Regions from separate parts of the Homo sapiens genome. Here region 2 is linked to region 1. Evidence: promoter capture Hi-C in human tissues and cell types (Jung and others, 2019). All regions are on one chromosome and are shown on one strand. Each heading gives the region's core, a stretch centred on a gene start or on the middle of the fragment in contact. The rest is flanking DNA. Distances are from core to core; before and after follow the strand shown. Region 1 holds the start of SPDYC (speedy/RINGO cell cycle regulator family member C). Region 2 overlaps DPF2 (double PHD fingers 2).

Region 1 (7,736 bases), core at 1,832-4,331:
TTCTTACCGACAGGATCTCCCTATGTTGCCCAGACCAGCACTACAGGTGCACACCACCACATCCGGCTGTATATTTTTAAAATCACTACATAAATTCTCTTTCTCCCTAGTTATGCTTTTTGTCCAAAGTTGTGTTTTTTTGTTTGTTTTTTGTTTTTTTTTTTTTTTGAGACAAGTTCTCACTCTGTCACCCAGGCTGGAGTGCAGTGGTACAATCTTGGCTCACCAAAACCTCTGCCTTCTAGGCTCAAGCGATTCTCCTGCCACAGCCTCCCAAGTAGCTGGGATTACAGGCATTCGCCACTACCACCCACCTAATTTTTGTATTTTTAGTAGAAATGGAATTTCACCATGTTGGCCAGGCTGGTCTTGAACTCCTGACCTCAAATGATCTACCTGCCTCGGCCTCCCAACGTGCTGGGATTACAGGCATAAGCCACCGCGCCCGGCCTAAAGTTGTTTTAATATATTAGTGTAGTTATCCCAGCTTTCTTTTAGTAATTGCATATTATTTTTTCTATCTTTATATTTTGAAATTTTTAATATTCTTATTTATTTATTTATTCATGTTTTAGAGACAGGGTCTTGCTGTGTCACCCAGGCTGGGTAGAATGGCATGATAATAGCTCACTGCAGCCTTGAACTCCTGGGCTCAAGTGATCCTCCCACCTCAGCCTCTTGAGTAGATAGGACTGCAGTCACGTGCCACCATGCCAGGCTAGTTTATTTTTGGTAGAGATGGGGCCTTGATGTATTGCCCAGGTTAGTCTCTAACTCCTGAACTCAAATGATCCTCCTGTCTCGGCCTCCAAAAAGTGCTGAGATTATAGGCGTGAGCCAATGGACCTGGCCATATATATATTTTTTGAGCTGGTAGTATGTTATTATGTTTTATGTGTATTCTTTTATATCCTTTTACGTGTATCCTTTATAGCATGCAATATTAATATATGATTTTACAAATTATATATACATTTACATGAATATAAATTTTATAAATAGTATATTAGTTAGCATAGAATAAATTTTGCTGTGATAATTGTAGCAGGCAGAATAATGGACTCCCAAAGATGGCTACATTTCACTTCCCAGACCTGAGAATATGTTATCTCACATGGCAAAAAAGACTTTGCAGATGGTTAAGGATCTTTTTTTGAGACCAAGTCTTGCTCTGTTGCCCAGACTGGAGTGCAATGGCATGATCTCAGCTCACTGCAACCTCCACCCCCAGGGCTCAAGCAATTCTCCTGCCTCAGCCTCCCGAGTAGTTAGGATTACAGGCATGCACCACCATGCCCCGCTAATTTTTGTATTTTTAGTAGAGGAGGGGTTTTGCCATGTTTACCAGGCTGGTCTTGAACTCCTGACCTCAGGTGATCTGCTCTCCTCTGCCTCCCACAATGCTGGGATTACAGGGGTAAGCCACCTCTCCCAGCCAAGTTAAGGATCTTGAGATGGGGAGATTATCTGGGCAGATTGAAGAGCCCAGTGAATCATGGGATTCTGAAAAGTGAAAGAGAAAGGCTGGGCATGGTGGCTCATGCCTGTAATCCCAGCATTCTGGGAGGCCAAGGCGGGTGGATCATGAGGTCAGGAGAACAAAACAAAACAAAAAAATTGCCAGGCATGGCGGCACATGCCTGTAGTCCCAGCTACTCGGGAGGCTGAGGCAGGAGAATTGCTTGAGCCCTGGAGGTGGAAGTTGCAGGGAGCCGGGATTGGGCCACTGCACTCCGGCCTGGGCAACACAGCGAGACTCCGTCTCAAAAAAAAAAAAAAAAAAAGTAAAAACAAATATTCTCCCCAGTGTGGGAGATCGGTGTCAGATCTCCAGGGGTGGCACTGAAGGAAATCAGCCTGAAGGCCCTCCCAAAGTTAAAGTGACTAGCCCACTCCCAGGCTTCTTTTTGGTACACCTTCCTGATCTCTAACCTTAATTACTGGGGGAGGAGGAGAACAGTTGAAAACACAGCTGGTCTAGGAGATTCATTCGGTTTCATGGAACACCTTCTCTGTGCAGGCAGCGTCCAGGAACAGCTGTAGACCACACAGCCAGGCTACCCAGCGTGTGGGCCCAGCAGCCAGGCTGGAACTCTATCTCTACTTACCAGCTGAGTGGCTGGCAGGAAGTTACTCAGCCTGTCGGTCAGCAACCCAAACTCTGTGTGTTAGTTGTTTGTTCGCTGACAAAATGAGGCTTCTCATCATTCTCATCAACTTCACGGGCTTGCTGTGAGGAACACGTGAGCTGATTCCATCACAGACTCCTCAGTAGGCAGCAGTAGGTGTTTAGTGAACGGGCTATGGATGCTGCCCCACTCACTACTTCCTTTCTAGGGGAGGCCGACTTCAAATGCGTGCACACACACAAACAGGATGGCCTGATGCAGACCAGCTGGTCTAGAAAGGCCTTCACGGCCTCAGGGAGCCTGGGAGGCGGCCTGGGGGAGACCATGAAACAGCAGATACACCAGAGACCAGAGATCAGAGAGAAAACAAAGGACCCAGAGATCCACAGACATCCAGACACCAGAGGCAACAAGAAACTGAGAGACTCAGAGGCCCACTGAGACCCAGGCAGCTTGTTCTGTGTTACGAGGGGAAAAATAAAATAAGAAACAAAAGAGAGACTCGGGGGGCCTCAGTGAAACCTAGAGACTCAAGGAGGCCAGGAGATTCAGAGACACCCATAGAGAGCCAGAGACCCTGCCCTAGCAAGGCACAATCAATGAAAAAAAACTCGCCCACCAGGCCCTCGCAGTCCGGGTCTCATATCCCGGCTCAGCACCTTGGCGCTGCATTTGTCAAGAGGGGAACAGGGATCCTAGCTCCCTGCCTGTCCTATGGGGCCTTAGGCCCTGGGGTCCAGCTGGCCTGCCTTCACCCCTCTTGTAGTTGATGAAGCTTTGGAGAGGCTTTCAAACCCTGGGGAGCCACAGCTGGGTGCCGACTGGACTCACTGGCAGAGAGGCAGGCGGTGAAGGCCAAGCCTCGCCCCCCAGGAAGGCCCTGATTGGTGGACGGGCTGCTTTGGGCAGGGCCGCCCTCAGGCTATATAAGCGCACTCGCGGCGGCGTTGGTGTTATGCTCTGGGCCATTCCTGAGCTCGGGTAAGGCTCGCTGCAGGAGGAGGCTGGGTTGCTTGCGGGCGCCTAGATGGAGGGGCCCAGATTGGCCCTGGGGTGGTCGACCGCACGTTCTCCTCGGCCCCGTGGTTGGCTTCTCTCTCTCAGGGATGAGGGTGGGTTTAGGACGGGAGCTTGAAATGTTTGAAGTGGCCCCATCAACTTGCTCTAAATCCAGGTATTTTTCTAATTTCATTCCTCCCTGAGGGCCTCAGTTTCCCCTCGGTGTAAGGGATCAGTGGCCCTTTCAACTCTGCTTTGGTGAGGGGTCGGGGGTGGTTGTGAGTTGGGGCCTAGAGGAGCAGTTAAACTCTTGGGTTTTTTTTTTCTTTTTTTTTGGCCAGGCGCAGTGGCTCACGCCTGCAATCCCAGCACTTTGGGAGGTCAGGAGTGTGAGACCAGCCTGGCCAACACGGTGAAACCCTGTCTCTACCAAAAAAATACAAAAAAAATTAGCCGGGCGTGGTGGCATGGCGCATGCCTGTAATCCCAGCTACTCGGGAGGCTCAGGCTGGAGAATCAGTTGAACCCGGGAGGCGGAGGTTGCAGTGAGCCGAGATCGCGCCACTGCACTCCAGTCTGGGCGACAGAGAGAGACTGTGTCTCAAAACAAACAAACAAAAACCAAAAAACCTCTTGGGGTTTTGGAGACCAAGGGCTTCACTTTTAACCGGCTGTTAGGCCTCAGCTTCAGTTTCCTCGTTTGACGACCGGTCTGAGTTAAACTTACCTCCTTACCAGGATGGAATAAGATAAGGCCCTTAAGCACAGCCCCAGGCACTTAGGAAGCCCTCAGCGGTGCTTGTTGCTGCTGTTACTCTGGCCTGTCCTGGGGTGCCAGGAGGAGGGTGAGGGTGCCACACCCTCACCTATAGCAACTCTTTGCTTCTTTTCTGGCCTCCCCACTCTTGTTGCATCCCGGCTGCCTTCTGTTCTGAGCCCCCAAGTCTCTGCACCCACCCCTCCACCGTCCTGGCCCCTGTCACCACCCTCTTGATTTGTGAGCATCACGGGGGTACATGCTAAGTCCTGAGCCTCCTTTCTCTACAGGTCACCCTGCCCCATCTCCATCTCCTATGAGATGAGTGACTCCCAAGACCCCACCACTTCCCCTGTAGTTACCACCCAGGTAGAGCTGGGGGGCTGCAGCCGGCAAGGTGGGGGCAATGGGTTCCTCCGTTTTCGCCAGCACCAGGAGGTCCAGGCCTTCCTCAGCCTTCTGGGTGAGTTTGGAGGGCTGGCACGGGAGGGGCCGTGAGGTCAAGTGTGAAAGCAGATGTGAAGTGTGGGGTCTCACCTGCCTGTACAGACATCTGAGACCTCTGACCCTCTCCCTCTCAGGTATCCCAGCTTAGGCAGGTGGGAGGGGTGTCCTCTCAGAAACTGGATTCAGGGCCAGGCACCGTGAGTCATACCTATAATCCCAACATTTTGGGAGGCTGAAATGGGAGTATCACTTCAGGCCAGGAGTTCAAGACCAGCCTGGTCAACATAGTGAGACTCCATTTCTATTTATATTAAGAAAGAGAGAGAGAAAGAGAAAAAGGGAGAAAAAGAGAAAGAGAGAGAGGGTTCAGTGGTGGCTTGGGCTTTGGAGCTTCTGATGCCACTCTTCTCCATGGAGGTGGTGGTAACCTGCGTCCTGTCATGTCTTCTCTACCCTCAGAGGACAGTTTTGTCCAGGAATTCCTCTCCAAAGACCCCTGCTTCCAGATTTCAGATAAGGTGAGGGAGTACAGGCTGGGGGTCTCTTGAGGGTCAGGTTGAGTTGGTGGGAATTGAGTGCCCTGGTCTGGTAGGGAGAGCCACTCACCTTCCATCCTTACCCCCTCATCTTTGCACACCACTTCCCACCATTTTACTGACTTTCTTTCCCTGCAGCAAAACCTCCCTGGGTGCAAATGAACCTGGGTGCAAGCCCCTCCTCCTCAGAGAATAACTAACCCCCCACCCCGATCTGTCTCTGCAGTATCTCCTGGCCATGGTGCTGGTCTACTTCCAGCGCGCCCACCTGAAGCTCAGCGAGTATACCCACAGCAGCCTGTTCTTGGCCCTGTGAGTGGTGGGGGCAGGCAGTGGAGGCATTTGCTGGAGGTGTCAGATGGGACAGGGCAGATGTGTGGCCTCTGCTCCCTGACCTTGTGCCTCTGTGGCTAGGTACCTTGCAAACGACATGGAGGAGGACCTGGAGGGCCCCAAATGTGAGATTTTTCCATGGGCCCTGGGAAAAGATTGGTGTTTACGAGTGGGGAAATTCCTGCACCAGAGGGATAAGCTTTGGGCACGGATGGGTTTCCGGGCTGTTGTGAGCCGCCAGTGCTGTGAGGAGGTGAGGCTGGGAGGCAACCTGGGGTGTGGGGAAGGCTGGGGTTCCCACCCCATTTACTGTCCACTCTGCTCCTCCCAGGTCATGGCAAAGGAGCCATTCCACTGGGCTTGGACTCGGGACCGGCGCCCCCACCATGGTGGGGTTCAGAGGGTCTGTCCACAGGTCCCTGTTCGCCTTCCCCGGGGCCCTGGCCTCTCGCCGCCCCACTGTTCCCCCTGTGGTTTGCCCCAGCACTGCAGCAGCCACTTGCTTAAGCCTGTGTCATCCAAGTGCCCTTCTCTGACCTCTGAATGTCATCGCCCTCCCTCCCAAAATTATCTCTCAAGGGTCAAAAACGCCTGGGGTGGGGACTTTCTCATCGTCTTGCCTCCCCAGATGCAACTGGAACCAGGCACCTACTCCCTCCGCAGTGAGTGCAGGATGGGACAGGAGCTGGGGGCTGGTGTGGGAGCTTGGGAGGCAGGAGTGAGGACCAACAATATGAGAGAGAGGGCCATGGGCCTGGGGTCGACGTGCTGCCCCTCCCGTGTGAGCTTGGCAGGTTTCTTCTCTGAGCCTCACTCTTTCCTCTCCCCAGTCTTCCCAAAGCCTCCGGCACGCCCTGGGCACTGAAGCTCTGCAGGGTGAAGAACAGCACGCCTGCTGGCCCACTGACTGACACACCATTGGCTGTGCTCCCACCCCTGCCCCTTCCTCCCAGCCTGCAGCTTGTGCCCACTCTGGTGCCAGTCCCCTCTAATAAATTCATGTCCACAGGACACCAACTGTGCTTAGGTCCTGGCCTGGTTCCTTGACCCAAGGTTGGGGTGGGGAGGGGGTATCTACCAGGGTTACAACATGTGAGCACAGGCTCTGTAACAGCTTGGCCCCTTCCCATTGGTGGCCAGTTATTCTGAGCCTCAGTTTCATCTCTGTGCTATCCATGCCTATGGATGATGAGATCTACACAGTCTAGATGGGATTAAATGAGATGAGGTATCTGCAGCCCTTAGAAGAGGGCCAGGGAGCCGAACGTGGTGGCTCACACCTGTAATCCCAGCACTTTGGGAGGCTGAGCCGGGTGGATCACTTGAGGTCAGGAGTTCAAAAACAGCCTGGCCAACATGGTGAAACCCCTTTGCTACTAAAAATACAGAAACTAGCCAGGCATGGTGGCAGGTGCCTATAATCCCAGCTACTCGGGACGCCAAGGTGGGAGAATTGCTTGAACTGTGGAGGCGGAGGTTACAGCGAGTTGAGATCATGCCACTGCACTCCAGCCTGGACGACAGAGTGAGACTCTGTCTCAAAAAAAAAAAAAAAAAAGGCCAGGAACATATTGGGAAACAAAACTTGAATGGAAGACAGCTCTTTATTTAGTCTAGAAATGCCTTCAGGGCCAGGTTTACTTAGGAATAAGACTTGATCCCTTCCTTGAGCTACAGTCAAATATAATATTGTAATTATAATAAACAACCCCCCTCCCCCAAGAGACATGAGGACTCAAAAGGGTTAATTTCTTTTTTTCTTTCTTTTTTTTTTTTTTCACATCACTCCTTTATTATACTGATCTGGAAAAAGATTTAGTACAGTTATGCTCAGATGAACACTGGACCCATGTGGCAGGGCCAAGCAAGTAGAACATGATTCAGAAATCAGTGAAAGACATACTTGGACAGGACCAAGAGGCATTTCACTGTCACGAAACAAGGCAGGAAGGGATTGTAATACCCACACCAGGAAGCACTCCTGCCCCTCAGAGGTCAAGGAGCTGATCCTATATTGGTATGAGGAATGGCTTATTTTCTGATGACTACATGTGGGACTATTTCAACCGCCACGAGAAACCCCAGAAGGGTTATTGTTTTGTATTATTTATATATACTATACTTCTTAAATTAAATGTAACACATAACTAAATTCAGGATTGATCCCAACCTTCTAGAGCCAGCTCCTCTGGCGTCAGGGAGGAAACAGTTGTCACATCACCATGCAGGTTACATTCATCTTCCACTGGAATGACTAGAGCCCTCAGGCAGTGGCCTGACTGCAGACGAGCAGAGGACTGGCTCCTGGGGACAGACAGGCTCTGTTGCTTCTCCTCATTGGTCATGGCTTAGCATGGTTCCTCCCCACAAGTCCTTAGTAAACAAAGCAACTCGCAAAAACCCAAGTCACTACTTTTAAACTCTGTTGGATAAGGGGAGCTTTTCCACAGCTTGGACTGAGAACCTGTGCTCTAGAAGTGCTATTCTGACTAGATTGTATGAAGGGAGTGGGTGCAGGAGACAAAATGGCTAAAA
Region 2 (6,626 bases), core at 831-3,330, 170 kb after region 1:
TTATCACAGAAGGTTATTATTATACACATATATAATTTTCATTAAAAAAATTAAAATAGGCCAGATGCAGTGGCTCATGCCTGTAATCCCAGCACTTTGGGAGGCCAAGGCAGGAGGATTGCTCAAGTCCAGGAGTTCGAGACCAGCCTGGGCAACAAAGTGAGACCCCATCTCTACAAAAAAATAATAATTAAAAAAAAATAGCCAGGCATAGCAGCATGCGCCTGTTGTCCCAGCTACTAGGGAAGCTGAGGTGGGAGAATCACTTGAGCCTATGAGTTCGAGACTGCAATGAGTCATGATCATGCCACTGCACTCCAGCCTGGGCAACAAAAAAAAAAAATTAAAACCAGAAGGTGCAAGAATAGTACAATGAAATACCACATACTCTTTACCTAGATTTATCAATTCCACATTTTGCCACATTTGCCTTATCTGTCTTTGCTAAACTATTTGAGAGGAAACTTCAAAAACTTTTCAGTCTAGGCAACATAGCAGGACCTTGTCTCTACTAAAAATAAAAATAAAAAATTAGCTGGGCATGGTGGCACACGCCTGCAGTCCCAGCTACTCAGGAGGCTGAGGTGGGAGGATTGCTTGAGCCCAGGAGATTGAAGCTGTAGCTCTGCTTATGCCTCTGCACTCCAGCCTGGGTAACAGAGGGAGACCCTGTCTGGGAAGGGAGGGAAACAAACTTTTATCCCTAAGTGCTTTACTCTTTTATCACAAAAGTTTGTGTCACAGTTTTTTGGTCCCTGAGGTTACACAGTGAAGCACACTTAGTCTCTGCCAACAGAGAAGATAAGAATACATGTAAAAATAACAGCTATAAATATGCCAGCATTGGGTTAAGTGCCTTTTCATGCCCTTTCTCCTTTAGTCTGTACAACCTTATGGGGTAGGTCCTGTGTTCCCCATTTCACACAGAGGCTGAAACAAAGCAGTTTAAAAACTTCCCATGGGTCGGGCACGGTAGCTCACGCCTGTAATCCCAGCACTTTGGGAGGCCGAGGCAGGCGGATCTTGAGGTCAGGAGATCGAGACCATCCTGGCTAACATGGTGAAACCCCGTCTCTACTAAAAATACAAAAAAAATTAGCCAGGCGTGGTGGTGGGCACCTGCAGTCCCAGCTACTCAGGCGCAAACCCGGGAGGCAGAGCTTGCAGTGAGCCGAGATTGCGCCACTGCACTCCAGCCTAGGTGACAGAACGAGACTCCATCTCAAAAAAAAAAAAAAAACTTCCCATGGCCGGCCACGGTGGCTGACGCCTGTAATCCCAGCACTTTGGGAGGCCGAGGCAGTTGGATCACCTGAGGTCGGGAGTTCGAGACCAGCCTGACCAAGATGAAGAAACCCCGTCTCTACTAAAAATCCAAAATTAATCAGGTGTGGTGGCGCATGCCTGTAATTCCACCTACTTGGGAGGCTGAGGCAGGAGGATCGCTTGAACCCAGGAGACGGAGGTTGCGGTAAGCCAGTATTGCGCCATTGCACTCCAGCCTGGGCAACAAGAGCGAAACTCTGTCTCAAAAAAAAAAAAAAAAAAAAAAAGCTTCCCACAAGGTCACACAAATAAGCAACAACATTTTAATTTAAACTAGGAGGCGAGTGTCAGGACAGAACCACCAATAATGTGCTCCCAGGGTGGCCAATCAGAGGCAGGAGAGGGCATGGCTGCTTGTGGCATCAGGGCAACCTTTTGGAAGCATGCTATTTGATTTGGCCATGTGGCATGGTGGGGAAAGCATTTCAGGCTAAGGAAATAACGTGAAGCACAGGGGAAAGATATCCCAAAGTATGGAAGGGAGCAGGAGCAGGATTATAGCATGCTTGAAAGGCGTTGGTGAGGAATGAGGCTGGTGTGGGTGGGACCACGTCACAGAGGAGGTTCTGGGTGGCCTTGGCCAGTCTCATCATAGGGGAGCTTTTGGATGCACATATTTCTACCCATGCTAACCCTCCTGTCCACTCAGCGGATCCTAGAACCAGATGACTTCCTGGATGACCTCGATGATGAAGACTATGAAGAAGATACTCCCAAGCGTCGGGGAAAGGGGAAATCCAAGGTGAGGGGCCAGCGTGCTGCCTGCATCTTGGGACAGGGTGGCCTAGGGAATTCCTTATTTTATTTCAAGTGAGATTAGCGGCCACTTCCAAAAGAGTCTAACTCCTCAGGCCCAGCTACCAAAATAAGGGTGTCTCTTTGCTCTTCTTGGCAGGGTAAGGGTGTGGGCAGTGCCCGTAAGAAGCTGGATGCTTCCATCCTGGAGGACCGGGATAAGCCCTATGCCTGTGACAGTGAGTGCCTCACAAGTGGGTGGGTAGACCTTGCCTTGGACCCAGCTCCTGCTCTGGATATGAGAGGAGGGAGGGTTGTGTTTTTGCCCAGAGTATTAAAACAAACCTGGGCTCTTGTCCTGCCTGCTGACTGCTTCCGTCTGAGACCCCTGGGAGGCCTGGGTCCCTGCTATATGACGGGTGGGACCTGCATGCTCTGGGAAAGATTTCTGCCATCCTCTGGGGTAGGGTTGCTTGTGGGGGCCACAGCAGGCAGGGTTGGCCTCTCAACAGATGGCCTGCAGGTCTCCTGGCCTCAGTTAAGCCAGGGCCCCAGGGGTCTGACACTGAGTTTTTCAACGTCTGTTCTCTTTTTCTTTCTGTCTGCCTTGCCCCACTTCTGTCCCTCCACCCTGGGAGCACCATCGCCGCTGGGGTTTCTCTCTCGTTTGCTCTGCTTTCCTGCTGCTGCTGCTCCTGTCTCAAGTGTATCAAGGCCTTCTTCTCATGACTTTTCTTTCTGTCTTTCAGATAGTTTCAAACAAAAGCATACCTCGAAAGCGCCCCAGAGAGGTAGCTCTCTCAACTTTTCAGACTTGTGGTTTTCCTTTCCCTTTTTCCCTCTTCCCTTGTTCCTCCTGCCTTTCTCATTTCCTGGGATGCTAGCTTTAAAATCTCTGGAATGGCATGGGGGTAGGAGCAGTGGAATTTCTGCTGTGCTCTACTCCTCAAAGTCCTGAAGGCTGCCTTTACCACTGCTTGTTTCCCACAAACCTGCTCCTAGAGCTGCTCGGCCCAGTGCATGGGGTGGCTTCAGAAGCATTATCAGGAGCCCATTACAATCAGACCCTTCCGCTCCCTCCCCAGACCAGGCAGCTGGTGGTCAGCTCATGTTCCCCACTGCCCCACCACCTCCTCCTGCCATCCTCTCTCCCCACTCCTTTCCTGCTGGCCCCCTTGCCCTTCTTGGTATTACTTCTCAAGATGACAAAATGCCTCATGGGGATCTGCTTTCCTTGCTGATTGGCAGGCCTGGACAGGGCAATTACATGGGAGTGTGCTTGAATTTCTTTGGGGACCAACTGCCCAACTGGCTTCATTGATAGGCTATCCCCAAGAAACCCATCCCCTGCTTGTTTACCCACATTCAGGGGAGATGGGCTCCATGGTGTGTGGGGTAGCATGAGCCTCCCACATTTACTGAGGGGTAAAAAAGTTTGGAGTCTTATCCACTTTTCCCCCTTCCTGCCACCCCAAAGATATAGGAATATCCTTCCCTTTCCTGACCTGGAGCGTCCCAGACTGTTAGTATATCCCAGAGCAACTAACTGGTGATGGGGCAAGGGCTAAGCCCCCCAAAAGTCAACATGGAAGAGCAGTGGTGGCCATGGGGTTGGAGTTCAGGAGGGAAAAGAGCCCCAGAAGCTAGAGAGCCCCACGGCCTGATGCTCCTGGCTGAGGGGAAGTGGCCGTCACTCAAGGCCTGTCCCAGAGTGGAGCTGCTAGGGGAAGGGATGGTTGCCCTCTGCCTCAGGTGGAGCCCCCACAGCTTGCAGGGATGGGGACATGGCACTCTTGTATCCTAACACCTTTCTCTGCAATCTTCTTCCCACTCAGTTTGTGGAAAACGTTACAAGAACCGACCAGGCCTCAGTTACCACTATGCCCACTCCCACTTGGCTGAGGAGGAGGGCGAGGACAAGGAAGACTCTCAACCACCCACTCCTGTTTCCCAGAGGTCTGAGGAGCAGAAATGTAAGCTGAGGTGTCAGAAGTGGTGGGCAAGCAGAAGTTGGCCTGGTTATGAAAACCACTCCTTGCATGGGTGTTGAGTGGCTCAGGGACCCCCATGGGTGTCATCAAAACTCTTTCTCTCTGTAGCCAAAAAGGGTCCTGATGGATTGGCCTTGCCCAACAACTACTGTGACTTCTGCCTGGGGGACTCAAAGATTAACAAGAAGACGGGACAACCCGAGGAGCTGGTGTCCTGTTCTGACTGTGGCCGCTCAGGTACTGCTTCCCGTGAAGGCTGCTGCTTTGCCCAGTCCCCAAGGGGCTCTTGGCTTGCTGGCCTCTAGGGCTGTCATAACCAGCCCACCTCGCTTTTCCTAACCAAGAGAAGATGTAGCCACAGGCAGGAGCTCCTCTCTTCCCCCCGCATTTCCGACTGTCTGTCTCACTCACTTCCCCCACTACAGGGCATCCATCTTGCCTCCAATTTACCCCCGTGATGATGGCGGCAGTGAAGACATACCGCTGGCAGTGCATCGAGTGCAAATGTTGCAATATCTGCGGCACCTCCGAGAATGACGTGTGTATCCCCGCCCCCTCCTCAGCATGGCTCCTTCTGGGCTTTTACTGCTGTTTGCACAGTTCCCTCTAAAGTGAGCTTTCTTTTAAAAAGGGAGCAGGATCCCTCCCACATGCCACACGCCCCTCCCTAGCATCTCAGTCAGAACTCTGATTTGTTGCCAGATATATATTGAGTGCTGATTTTATGTCAGACACTGTTCTAGTCACTAAAGATGCTAAAGACAAACAAGGTCCCTGCCTCATGAGATTTACATTCTTACAGGAACAACAATAAGCAAGGATGTAAATGAGATTTGTATAATGTGCCATGAAAAAAACGAAATCAGTACTGTGGCAGAGAATAATTGCATAAGTGATTTATTTTGATGGTCAGGTATGGCTCTTCTGGGAGGGTGATGCTGGTGTTGAAATTTTGGTGATACCAAGGAGCCAGTCAAGATTTGGAGGTAGAGGAATCCCAGGAAAGGAGCAGCCAGCGCCAAGGCCTTATGTTGGACAAGCCAGATGACAGGGCATGGGAGAGTATGGTGGGCAATGAGATGAGAGAGGCAAGCACTGCCAGATCTCTGGGGCCTCGGGTTTTATTCTAGGTACAACAGGACACTGTTGAAGGGTTTTACTCGGGAAGTGACATGGTTATTTATGTATTTATTTATTTACTTTTTTTTTTTGAGATGGAGTCTTGCTCTGTCGCCCAGGCTGGAGTACAGTGGCACAATCTCAGCTCACTGCAACCTCTGCCTCCTGGGTTCAAGTGATTCTCCTGCCTCAGCCTCCCAAGTAGCTGGGATTACAGACACGTGCCACCACACCCGGCTAATTTTGTATTTTTAGTAGAGATGGGGTTTCTCCATGTTTGCCAGGCTGGTATCGAACTCCTGACCTCCGGTGATCCGCCTGCCTCAGCCTCCCAAAGTGCTGGGATTATAGGCGTGAGCCACTGCACCCAGCTATTTATTTATTCTTTATGTATTTATTTATTTATTTTGAGACAGAGTCTCTCTGTCATCCAGGCTGGAGTGCAGTGACGCGATCTTAGCTCACTAAAACCTTTCCCTTCAGGCTCAAGCAGTACAATCCTCCCACCTCAGCCTCCCGGGTAGCTGGGACCACAGATGCACACCACCATGTCTGGCTACTTTTTTATATTTTTGGTAGAGACAGGGTCTTGCCATATTGCTGAGCTGGTCTCAAACTCCTGAGCTCAAGCAGTCCTCCCACCTTGGCCTCTCAAAGTGCTGGGATTACAGGCATGAACCCACCATGTCTGGCCTTGTCTTATATTTTATTTTATATTTATTTATTTATTTCAAGATGGAGTTTTACTCTTGTCATCCAGGCTGGAGTACAATGGCGCAATCTCGGCTCACTGCAACCTCTGCCTCCCAGGTTCAAGCAATTCTCCTGTCTCAGCCTCCCAGGTAGCTGGGATTACAGGCGCCCGCCACCACGCCTGGCTAATTTTTAGTAGAGACGGGGTTTCACCATGTTGGCCAAGCTAGTTTTCAACTCCTGACCTCAGGTGATCCACCTGCCTCAGCCTCCCAAAATGCTGGTATTACAGGTGTGAGCCACCGTGCTTGGCCCTTGTCTTATATTTTAAAAAGATGACTTTGGGTGCCGTGTGGAGGGTAGACTGTAGGGACAAGGATGGAGGCTCATGCCTGTAATCCTAACACTTGAGAGGCTGAGGCGGGAGGATCACTTGAGCCCAGGAATTCAAGACCAGCCTGAGCAACATAGGGAGATCCTGTCTCCACAAAAAAAATAAACACTTAGCCAGGTGTGGTGGCACACACGTTAGTCCCAGCTACTTGGCAGGCTGAGGTGGGAGGATTGCTTGAACCCAGGAGTTTGAGGCTGCAGTGAGCCATGATCACACCACCGCACTCTAGCCTGGGCAACAAAGCAAGACCTTGTCTCAAAAAGAAATAGTCACTGGGCACGGCGTCTCACACCTGTAATCCAAGCACTTTGGGAGGCTGAGGTGGGAGGATTGCTTGAGCCTGGGATTTCAGGACCAGCCTGGGCAAC

The links. The method cuts DNA at HindIII sites, captures the fragments that hold promoters and counts their contacts. A contact is called where the count stands out against the background at its distance.
Region 2: a fragment that was not itself captured here is called in contact with the fragment with the promoter of SPDYC in region 1 in 2 of the 25 tissues and cell types used here (dorsolateral prefrontal cortex and spleen).

The regions. Positions count from the first base shown.
Region 1 is chr11:65,167,152-65,174,887 of GRCh38, forward strand. SPDYC (speedy/RINGO cell cycle regulator family member C) reads left to right here and starts at 3,082. Exons shown (of 7, transcript NM_001008778.3): 1 at 3,082-3,110; 2 at 4,176-4,348; 3 at 4,792-4,850; 4 at 5,095-5,180; 5 at 5,283-5,454; 6 at 5,533-5,863; 7 at 6,032-6,223. The coding sequence starts at 4,207. The coding sequence ends at 6,066. It also overlaps the pseudogene PGAM1P8. The HindIII fragment of the contact is 3,474 bases long and covers 679-4,152 here.
Region 2 is chr11:65,341,770-65,348,395 of GRCh38, forward strand. It overlaps DPF2 (double PHD fingers 2), which reads left to right. Exons shown (of 11, transcript NM_006268.5): 5 at 1,976-2,068; 6 at 2,222-2,300; 7 at 3,897-4,034; 8 at 4,161-4,289; 9 at 4,478-4,590. Among named protein-coding and RNA genes, the nearest start is that of TIGD3, 9.7 kb to the right of the region's middle. The HindIII fragment of the contact is 7,351 bases long and covers 1-5,756 here.